2 separate regions of the Homo sapiens genome follow, and region 2 is linked to region 1. Evidence: promoter capture Hi-C in 16 types of primary human blood cells and fetal thymus (Javierre and others, 2016). All regions are on one chromosome and are shown on one strand. The core of a region is centred on a gene start or on the middle of the fragment in contact, and the rest is flanking DNA. Distances in the headings are between cores, read along the strand shown. Region 1 holds the start of ZNF534 (zinc finger protein 534). Region 2 has its middle 28 kb from the start of VN1R4.

Region 1 (5,696 bases), core at 1,612-4,111:
GAAGATTACAATTTCTTCACAGCCTTACTTGTGAAGCAGGTTCACTGCACACTGGTTACCAACGTGTTGGAGTTGAGTGAGAGATAGTCCCATGAACACACAGTAAGTTACATGAAGTGAATTTGTTACAGATTGGCAGCAACGACAGCAGATGCCTGGGGTTCATGCATGCTGTTCCCGAAGGCTCAGGAAAACCACCCAGTTCAGATGCAGTCTGCGTGTGTGTTCCTCCCGCATCACAGCTGAGGGAGCCTGAAAGGCGGCCTGGCCCAGGTTTCATGCTCCAGGGATGCATGGCACGTTGGCCTAAAACAATGAAGGGCATCCTGTTCTGAGGGGACTGGAACAGATCCTGTCCTTCTCTGGTAAGGATGGACAGGATCCTGTCCTTCTCTGGTAAGGATGGACAGGATCCTGTCCTTCATCTCAGTATGTTGCTTTTCTAGCACATTTTATATTCATTCTTGGGAACTACAAGTGAGAAGTCAGACGCAACTGGGCCAGTTCAACCCCACTTGAGTGCTGTCTTGCAGTCTCCCCACCAACCCAGTATCCCCTTTAATAAAGCTAGTCAATTTATGTGTGCACTGACCTTCCTGGATCTGGAGGTAGAGGCTTGTCTCAGGAGATTGAAGTAATATCTTGACTGGCAGAATCTCAGCGCGACATCACTGAGGTACAGCCAGTTGCATTTCACTAGGCTCAAGAGGATTGCTGCCTCAAGCAGGATAACCAGGCCTGCCTGGAACAGTGCCATAGTCCGGGATCCCAGTGACCTGGGTGAGAAGTTGCTATTCAGGTCAAAGAAAATTTCTTCAGGTGACCCCACTGTCTCTAGCCAATAGTCCTGCTTGTGGATCTTACGTATTTGTGTTTCAAAACTACCTGAGGTCCTGATGTGGGGTCCTTACCTCCTGTGCACAGTGACTCATGCCTGTAATTTGAGTACTTTGGGAGTGTAGACAGAAGGAAAACTTGAGGCCAGAACTTGGACACCCGGCTGGGCAACAAAGTGAGACTCCATCTCTACAAAGTAATAATAATATATAAAACTAAAAAATTAGCACAGTCCAATGTCACAGGCCTGTACTTCCAGCTACTCGGGAGACTGAGGTAGGAGGTGCCCATGACCCCAGGAAGTCAAGGTTGTAGTGAGCTATGATTGTGCCACTGCACTCCAGCCTGGATGTCACAGGTTGATTCCCTGTCTTTAAAAAAAAAAAAAAAGTCTTAAACTAAATAATTTATACCTATTTTTAAAGTTATTGGCTTTTTTAAAAAGAGTTGGTGACCTGACTTCACACTGACCTTAGTCCTCTATGCCCAAGGTGGTGTCCCTAGGAAAGTTTCTGGAATTGAGCACAGGGTTGACCTCACCCTCTGGAGTGAATGGGGAATGTAAATGAAAAGTATTTCTAGCCGGGCGCGGTGGCTCACGCCTGTAATCCCAGCACTTAGGGAGGCTGAGGCGGGCGGATCATGAGGTCGGGAGATCGAGACTACGGTGAAACCCAGTCTCTACTAAAAATACAAAAAAAATTAGCCAGGCATGGTGGCGGGTGCCTGTAGTACCAGCTACTCGGGAGGCTGAGGCAGGAGAATGGTGTGAACCCGGGAGGCGAAGCTTGCGGTGAGCCGAGATTGTGCCACTGCACTCCAGCCTGGACGACAGAGCAAGACTCCATCTCAAAAAAAAAAAAAAAAGTATTTCTATTCTATGGGGCATTGGCATGATACTGCGCATTCCACTCTGGCAGGGTTTAGCATTTCACACTTTAGCTTCCATCCCCTTCACAGATAGTTCCAAAGTGTCTTAATTCCTAAAATTTGTCTTTCTGGCTGGGCATAGTGGCTCACGCCTGTAATCCCAACACTCTGGGAGGCCGAGGCGGGCAGATCACCTGAGGTCAGAAGTTCAAGACCAGCCTGGCCATGGTGAAACCCCGTCTCTACTAAAAATACAACAAATTAGTCGGGTGTGGTGGTGCGCACCTGTAATCCCAGCTACTCGGGAGGCTGAGGCAGGAGAATCACTTGAACCTGGGAGGCATAGGTTGCAGTGAGCCGAGATCTCATCATTGAGCTTCAGCCTGGGCAACGAGCGAAACTCTCAAACAAACAAACAAACAAAAAAAATGTCTTTCTTTCGTTCTTTCTTGTCTCTCCCTTTTTCTCACACACAGGCACAGACACCTACATTCTTTTCTTTGTTGCACTATTTCTCTCTAGTCTTATTTTCTTTCTTTCTTTTCTTTTTTTTTTTTTTTTTTGAGACGGAGTCTCACTCCATCGCCAGGCTGGAGTGTAGTGGTACGATTTCGGCTCACTGCAACCCTGCCTCCCGGGTTCAAGTGATTCTCCTGCCTCAGCCTCCCGAGTAGCTGGGACTACAGGCGCCCACCACCACACCCAGCTAATTTTTGTGTTTTTAGTAGAGACGGGGGTTTCATCATGTTGGCCAGGATGGTCTCGATCTCCTGACCTCGTGATCCGCCCGGCTTGGCCTCCCAAAGTGCTGGGATTACAGGAGTGAGCCACCGCACCCGGCCTTGTCTTTCTTTTTGCTTTCTTTTCACGCTCTCTTCTCTCTCTGCTTCCAGAGTAGTTGGGACTTAAAATTTATTGTAATAACAGGAATTCTCGTGGATCTAATCTAATCACCAACCGATTTTGCTCTGCCCCAGCAAGATCTGTTTACAGATCTGTTTACAGAAGTGCTGAGCAGATCTCGCCTCCAAAACCCTAAAACAGGATCGCTGAGTCAGACTGACAGAAGCATAGACCCCGCCTTGAGCCCGCCCTGTCCCGGCCCTGCCCTCGGCCCCGGGCCCGGCCTGTACGATGCGCGCGCAATTTCCTGCAGACCCGGAAGTCGAGATCATGGAGTGAACGTTTCGCGCGCTTTTTCCTGTAGACCCGGCACCCGACTGCGCGGAAAGACTGTCTAAGCCGCCACTCGTGAGTTTGCCTTTGTCTAGATTAAATTTAGGCTGCCCAGTTCCTGTGTGCTTCTACACCCGCGATCTGAGGGCTCATGCAGACCTTGAAGTCCCGGCACCGCTCTATCCACTCCAAGTAAATTCAGACATTCTCTAGAGAGTCTGGAGGTCGCTTACCTGCGTGTTAAAACCGCTTGGAGGCTTCTAGGCCGGGCGCGGTGCCTCACGCCTGTAATCCTGGCACTTTGCTATTTTTTTTTCATTTTTTGTAATTATTCAGTCTAGTTGATTGAATCCATTGATGTGTACCCCAGAGATACCAAGGGCTGACTTTAGACTGTATCTGCTCGTTAGTCACTTAATAGTCTTTTTTTTTTTTTTTTTCCTGAGACTGAGTTTTGCTCTTGTTGCCCAGGCTGGAGTGCAATGGCGTGATCTCGGCTCACTGCAAACTCCGCCTCCCGGATTCAAGCGATTCTCCCGCCTGGGCCTCCCGAGTAGCTGGGATTACAGGCATACGCCACCATGCCTCTCTAATTTTGTATTTTTAGTAGAGATGGGGTTTCACCATGTTGGCCAGGCTGGTCTCGAACTCCTGACCTCAGGTGATCTGCCCGCCTCATCCTTTCAAAGTGCTGGGATTACAGGCATGAGCCACCGTACTTGGCCAATAGTCTTTTGGATGAGATCCACTTTTATGGTATCTCAGTGCTTTTTTTTCATGTAACCCTTTTTTTTTTCCCTTAACAATGCCCTCCAGGCACATGAGTATTGATTGATGCTGACAATTTTTTTTTTGGGTTTTTTTGAGACAGAGTCTCACTCTGACGCCAAGGCTGGAGTGCAGTGGCACTGTGTTGGCTGACTGCAACCTCTGTCTCCTGGGTTCAAGCAATTCTCCTGCCTCAGTCTCCCGAGTAGCTGGGATTACAGGTGTCCACCACCACGGCCGGCTAGTTTTTATATTTTTAGTACAGACAGGGTTTGACCATGTTGGCCAGGCTGGTCTTGAACTCCTGACCTCAGGTGATCCACCTGCCTCGGCCTCCCAAAGTGCTGGGATTACAGGCGTGAGCCACTGCGCCCGGCCTTGATGCTGACAATTTGGATATGCCAGTGAGAAGCTGTAACATGGAGTCTTTAAGGGGAATTAATAGGGTTTAGTACTGATGGAGGTTTCAGGCATCCATTGGGGCTCTTGGAACATAGTGCACATCGATAAAAGGATTCTACTATAGTCTATATCTAGAATTGAGCACTGTGATCCACAGAGGGCTGAGGGGCCTGTGCTCTGCATGAGCTTTGGTCAGGGTGAGGTCTGTGCTTTTTTTTTGTTTTTTTTTGAGATAGAGTCGCACTCTGTCACCCAGGCTGGAGTGCAGTGTTAAAATCTTGGCTCACTGCAACCTCTGTCTCCTGGGTTCAAGCAATTCTCCTGCCTCAGCCTCCTAAGAGCTGGGATTATAGGTGCCTGCCATTACCCAGCTAAATTTTGTATTTTTAGGAGAGACGGGGTTTCACCATCTTGGCCAGGCTGATCTTGAACTCCTGACCTCGTGATCGACCTGCCTTGGCCTCTCAAAGTGCTGGGATTACAGGCGTGAACCACCACACATGGCCTTTTTTTTTTCTTTTTCTTTTTTAAGATGGAGTTTCACCCTGTCACCCAGGCTGGAGTGCAATGGTGCGATCTCGGCTCACTGCAACCTCTGCCTCCCAAGTTCAAGGGATTCTCCTGCCTCAGCTTCCTGAGTAGCTGGGATTACAGGCCCGTGTCACCACGCCCAGCTAATTTTTTGTATCCTTAGTAGAGACGAGGGTTTCATTATGTTGGCCAGGCTGGTCTCAAACTCCTGACCTCATGATCTGCCCACCTCGGCCTCCCAAAGTGCTAGGATTATAGGTGGGAGCCACCGCACCCGGCCAAGTCTGTGCTTTTAAGGGGAGCTTAGTCAAGCCCAGCTCTGCACTGCTGCAGTGTGTGTGTCGCTCACCATGAGACAGGAGAGAGTTTTGAGGAAGGGAGTAAAAAACTCACTTGTTGATTTTCCTGTGGGAGATCAACAGTAGGCAGCAGAGGACCATCCTTCCAGAAGGTGAAGTCTTCCCTTTTTGTGTGGCTGTGGCACAGGAAGTGGGTGTGTTGATTCTAAGCCCTAAACAGCATTATTTTTGATACTAGGATTCACTTTCAAAGAGACATATTATGCAAGGAAGCAACTCGGAAGAGGAAAGAAAGGAAGTCAGGAATGGCCCTTACTCAGGTAAGGTAATGTTCTCAGTGGATTGTTCTGTCTCTGTTTCTTCCTGAAATGCCAGGCATTGGAGTTGCTAATCTCTGACTCTGAAGCATCCTGCCTGACTCATTTCATTGCACTTACCCATGGCTTCTTCCAGTCCCTTTCACTTCCACTTAAGATTCCAGTTCCCTATGACCCAATGACATGAACTTGGGAAGAGGTTCCACTGGGCATGGTCCTGGGAAGTGCTCACACCCAGACACGGATGGAGATGGGGTGTGGGCCTTGTGGTGTCAGTGCTGTTGGGCAGCAGGGATTGTTCAGGGGCCACATCTGGATGCACTGTGAGTGTTCTGTGGACTAAGACTAGAGAAGCTGCATGTGGAATTCCTTTTTTTTTTTTTTTGAGACAGAGTCTCGCACTGTTGCCCAGGCTGGAGTGTGGTTTTGTGATCTCGGCCATATAAATGTATATGTGTACTAGTGTATATGAGTGTTAGTATATATATGTGTAAGT
Region 2 (5,696 bases), core at 1,850-4,349, 870 kb after region 1:
TATATATATATATATATATATATAGACAAAGTTTTGCTCTTGTTGCCCAGACTGGAGTGCAATGGTGTGGTCTCGGCTCACCACAACCTCCCCCACACCGCCCCCGAGGTTCAAGTGATTCTTCTGCTTATTCATTTTACAAATAAAATAAAATAAAACAAAATAATCCCACCTACTCTCCTGAATAGCTGGGATTACAGGCATGCGCCACCATGCCTGGCTAATTTTGTATTTTCAGTTGAGATGGGGTTTTTCCATGTTGGTCAGGCTGGTCTCGAACTCTTGACCTCAGGTGATCCACCTGCCTTGGCTTCCCAAAGTCCTGGGATTACAGGCATGAGCCACTGCATCCGGCCTATTTTCATATTCTAAAGGGAGAAGTCCACTGTGTTTAGAGATATTTTCCCCATGCATTCCTTATGTTTCCTACGTCTTTTATCAGCTTCTGCTCCAGACTCTCTAAAGATTTTGTGTAAAAAACAGCCTTGAAAGATGGTGGTACTGTCTTCATAGGCGTTACAAGATAGATAAATTATTTGAACAATATAACAAAGATAATGCCTTCCACTGAGGCAAAAGTTAGGAAGATTTTCTTGCGATCCACTTTAAAATAGTGGGGGCAGGGTGCGGTGGCTCACGGCTATAATCCCAGCACTTTGGAAGGCTGAGGTGTGTGGATGACTTGAGGCCAGGCGTTTGAGACCAGCCTGGCCAATATGGTGAAATCCTATCTCTACCAAAAATACAAAATTAGCTGGGTGTGAGGGCACTGACCTGGAATCGCAATTACTTGGGAGGCTGAGGCAGGAGAATCCGTTGAGCCTGGGAGGCGAAGGCTGTAGTGAATTGAGGTGGCACCACTGTACTCCAGCCTGGGCGATAGAGCGAGACTCTGTCGCAAAAAATAAATAAAATAAAATAATGGACCGGGCATGGTGGCTCGTGCCTGTAATCCCAGCACTTTGGGAGGCCGAGGCGGGCAGATCACAAGGTCAGGAGATCAAGACCACCCTGGCTAATTCAGTGAAACCCCATCTCTAGTGATAAGCAGAAAAGAGGGTTGAGGAAGGGACTTTACTGGCCCAACCAGAAACAAACTAAGAACCCAGGACTCTATTCTCTCCCTTGGACACCCTACACCAATCCCTGATGTCACATAATGCAATTTAGTGTAATCCGCAGTGACATTGATTGTTGGTGTTTAATCCAAGTGATAATGAAAACTGACTTGTAATGTGCTTAAGGACTTTAGCTCCAAAATTAATCTACTGTTCAGTCCACCCTAGGAGAATTATAGACTCAATTTTCAGAATTATTAAGAGTGCACTACAAGACCACCATGCTTCTCAAAGAGATAGGAGAGGTCAAGAGGAATCACCTAATCCTGTGCAGAAAGGGTGTCTCCAAATGGCAGTTGCTGGAATACGAATGTTTTCTCTCATCCTTAGTGCATGAATGCTTAGTGGAAACTGATTGTCTCCTCCTGAAAACATCCATAGTCTCTTCATACTGACAGATTGTTTTCCATCTTCTAGTTAAAGAATCAGCATTTAAGGAAGTGGTAACATACAAACTGGGTTTCAGAGAGCAGCCCTTGGGCACAAAAGTTTCTAATGATGTATTCTCTGGTTTAAGCATAGTCTCATATGAATCCCACAGTGTACTGCTGGAAATGAAAGCTGGGAGTCGCAAAGAAAATGAGTACTTGAACAAAAGATTTCTCAGCAAGGCAATTTTACTTCTGCAGAAGGGTGCTGCCTATAAGCCTGATTGCCATGAGAGCACCCCAAACAAAGGAAAGCAGGGATTCTTATTCCTAACGCATTGGGCCCCTACTGCTGCGTCCTATCTCCGTTGGCTGGAGCTGGACTGCACAATCTAGACTGATACCGATTGGCTAAAAACTTAAAACTTTACTAAATAGGTAAAGGCACAATGGGGAACAAAGAAAGGGATGGGGTTGGTTGTAGGAAACTAGGAAAACAATAACATTTCCAAATAAGGAAAGAAGCCTGGGCTGCAAGCTGGGACATGCCTGGGCATGTCTAGGCCTGTCCGGACAGGCCAGGAAACATATGGGTTAGGCCTCTTGGTTTACAGTACAGGGATATAGGATTACTTATTTCTTTACTGTGTTTACCAACTGCCCGGGGCACAACAAAGAGTTATTAGTAGGGTAAAAGATTTGTTAATAGTATGAAACATGAAGGAAACTTGAAAGAAGCTTTTAAGTGGGACTATCATTCTTAGAACTTAATATTATTAACAAAAAGGGAAGTTTTGAAGAGGAACTTTTAATTTCCACAGTACAATTTTGATTTGTAAAATACACAAAATTTAACACGTTAAAGATTCCATTTGTACAAGGGGCTTCCACTTAACATGTTTCAGAAATCATGCTTTATTGCTATTACTTTTACTTGTATCAATTATGAATATAGAGATAAGTATATAATTTGAAATTACTAACATTAGGTTTCTACCTTGTATGATTTTATCACATATTGGTGTTTCATTTCCCATAGTTTGGAGCAAGACATAGTGTTCAGTGATTTCTGTGATAGGTTCCAATTTATTTCTGGCATAAAAGCAAAATCTTATGTCTGCTGCCATCTCAAGATAGAGGCAATTGTGCATTCTTTAAATATGATTTGTCATGGAGCAGTTCCTAGAGAATTATAAGGTCATTCTGCGTCTATGTTATGTTAAGATATCTCAATTTTATTTGAAGTTTGTATTGGCATATTCTATAAATCTTTATCCATGAATGTAAACTTGTTACAAAGTTACAAAATAAAATAACACCAATCTACAATAAGAGGACAGGACTTAAAATGACTCTATATACATCTGCATTACTTGAAGAAGACAGTTAAATTCTCCCTTGCATAGAGTTTAACTCCACCACTCTTTACCAACCCTGCCAAGGTCAAGCCCCCTCTTTGCTCTAAAATTTTGGATTTTGACAAATCAGTAGCTTTATCCATCTACGTGTTCCTTAGCTTTCCAGTGAAAGTAATAGTCCTGCCTGTTCTGTGATCTGCCTGCCTTGGCCTCCCAAAGTGCTGGGATTACAGGCGTGAGCCACCGCGCCCGGCCCGAGTGTACCTTTTTGAGTCATTTTCCTTGAGTAGCCCTCATGTTTTTGACATCATTTGTCCACTCCTGTTCCAAAGCACCCTTTCAAGGATTGTTGTATAAGAAATCATTCTAAGAGATGTTGACACTGTCATCATTGGGGGTAAAAGACAGACATGACCATGTAACAAAGATTCTGCCTCCTGCTTGAAGGCCCTACATATTTCATGACAGTCTTGATGATGGTGGGATGCTGAGAGAAAAATGATTTTCTGGAAAAGGAAAGGACGGGTTGAGGGATAAGAGAAGGCACGTGGTCATGGAGTACATGTGTTCATCAAGCTGGAAACAAGGAGGAGTAGGAAGCCTCCCTGCTCTTCCATGCTAGTGAAGCTCATGTAAGGGAAGAAGGATTTAAACAAGCAACTGAATGTGCTTTGCTTACTATTCATTCTTTTCCTGGCAGAACAGTGAAGATTCAAGGGTGACTTGAAAGCATTCTAGCTTCCGTATTTGAGCCTTAAGCAGCCAGCAGGCAGGTGGCACTGGGAGGGTCGAGCTTTGCTGCTGCCTTCCTTACCAGCGCAGACACTCTCCTGCTCTGCACCCCAGTTTCTTCCTCTGTCCCTATCCTGACTTCGTCAACATTAAAGAAGAAACTAAATATTCTTGGAATTTGTTGTAAGTGGGGAACTCAAACTTCTACAGCTCTGCTGGATATGCATGCCCCTGTTTCCATTCTGGCCTCTGTGGTGCATTGCAGGGAGGGTGGGCTAGGTGCGGGGGAGGCTGAAAGTCCCCGGGGATAAGCATGGGTCATGGGTGCACGCGTGGGCAGAAAAAGAAAGGCTCCGTATCTGGCCCTCCCTGGTTGCTGAACGTACAAGCAGAAGAAGGAAGCTTCGCAGAACTTAGGGTGAAGAAACAAAAGATGAAACCTCCCTCTACCCTGGCAGGCCCCATGCTCACCCCATCTACACCCGCGCATTTCCCACAGGCTGCCTGGGATCCTGTGGTGCAGCCTGCTAGAGTGTAATTTCTCTATCAGGGAAACTGTTTGTACAGCAAATTGGGTGGCCGGAGTTGAAGAGATGGCTCTCACGTAACGTATATTTAAAAATTACCTTACTAAAGCACGCTGGAGGAGTTCAACCTGAGCTTCCAGATCACTCTTTATATTTCATGGCTTCCGCCCCCATCCAAGAGGCAGCCTGGAGACTTCCATCCACTGCTTTTTAGGGACCAGGTCCTAGAGAGACAGGGACGATCTCCTGAGACTGAAATCCCACCCTCAGAGCCTTCTGATCTTTCTGGATTCAGGAGAGTTTCCTCCCAAGGTGAAAACGGGAGGAGGCAGGTTAGGGAAGCATTGTCTTCGCCCTCTCCCTCCAGTGTTTCCTAACCTTGACCCATGTTTGACTTAACCTCAAAGGGTCCACCCATCCCTATATCCAGCCTCACACGGGACTTAGAACATGACTCTCTCCAAGGGTGGGACCCAGCCAGCGGGGGAAGCTCACCAGGAGATTCCAACGTGCAACCAAGTTGAGAGTCAGTCTATGTTTGTGCTTCTCCCACTTTAACCCACATGTGAAACACCTGGGGTTGCTATATAAGCTGCAGCTACTGATTGAGCAGGTGGGGGTGGGGCTGTGCCTGAGGGTCTGTGTTTCTCAGAAGCTACGGGTCTGCAGGTGACACTCTGGGCACCCAGTCCTCTTTGCTCAAGTAAATGAAACACGATGATTGAAATGTAAAGAAATTGGCCTGAGGTGAAAAGGAAAACTCAAAACACCTGTAAAACGTGTCATAGTTCAGAGAATTTTATTCATATGGAAAGAAATTAACCAAGCAGAATTTTACAATGACTTTTAATAACAAAAGTTCCAAGGCTAATAGAGTACATCATTACAAATGAAATTCATTCACAAACTTGAATTTACTCTATTGTTTACTTGTGGTATGATAATAATAATAGTAAGATATATTTTACCATGTGCCATTCATGACGTGCTTTGCATAACTTATTGAATCCACTGAATAACTCCAACACTGAGAATATTGGTACCTCAACTTTACACATGCGCTAGCTGAGATGCCCTCTCTACCACAGTGGAAATCAGAGTCTAGGTAGCTTCATAAAATAAATGGAGTATTTCCCTTGTTTGATGTCCTGGAAAAATGTATACCATATAAAAAAGAACAGTTTCTTAAATGTTTGAATTCAATGATTTAAAAAAAACACATTCTTCCAAGAAAAAAAAATTTCCCATTTTCCAAGGCTAAGCGTTTCTCACTACAACTCTCCTTCACAGTCAAATATTCTTGAGTCAGGAGACACTGACGTTTTCCACTACCATCAAAGGGCCCTTTGCCCAGAATTACTCAAATTTCAGTGGTTTGCTCCCTCCCTAGATGAGTTTCAGAGCTTTTACTAGTGGAGCATTGTTTGCTTATGTTGACTCAGTTTCTCATATAATTGTATGTAATTGAAAAAGAAATCTATAGGACACTTTCAACAGCCCCATTTTAATACAGGTTAAATTTACACAATGTAAATAGGCAGGTTCGTTGATCCCCGATAGTATCTGGGGTCCACGTTTGAACAGACACCGCTG

The links. Contacts are between HindIII fragments. The CHiCAGO score rates a contact against its expected background, and 5 or more counts as called.
Region 2: a contact is called between a fragment that was not itself captured here and the fragment with the promoter of ZNF534 in region 1, in 1 of 17 cell types (M2 macrophages). The highest score is 5.2, in M2 macrophages.

The regions. Positions count from the first base shown.
Region 1 is chr19:52,426,287-52,431,982 of GRCh38, forward strand. ZNF534 (zinc finger protein 534) reads left to right here and starts at 2,862. Exons shown (of 5, transcript NM_001143938.3): 1 at 2,862-2,958; 2 at 5,122-5,203. The coding sequence starts at 5,189. The HindIII fragment of the contact is 5,138 bases long and covers 1,623-5,696 here.
Region 2 is chr19:53,293,240-53,298,935 of GRCh38, forward strand. No RefSeq gene overlaps it. Among named protein-coding and RNA genes, the nearest start is that of VN1R4, 28 kb to the left of the region's middle. RefSeq lists an enhancer at 1,470-2,669. The HindIII fragment of the contact is 1,754 bases long and covers 2,223-3,976 here.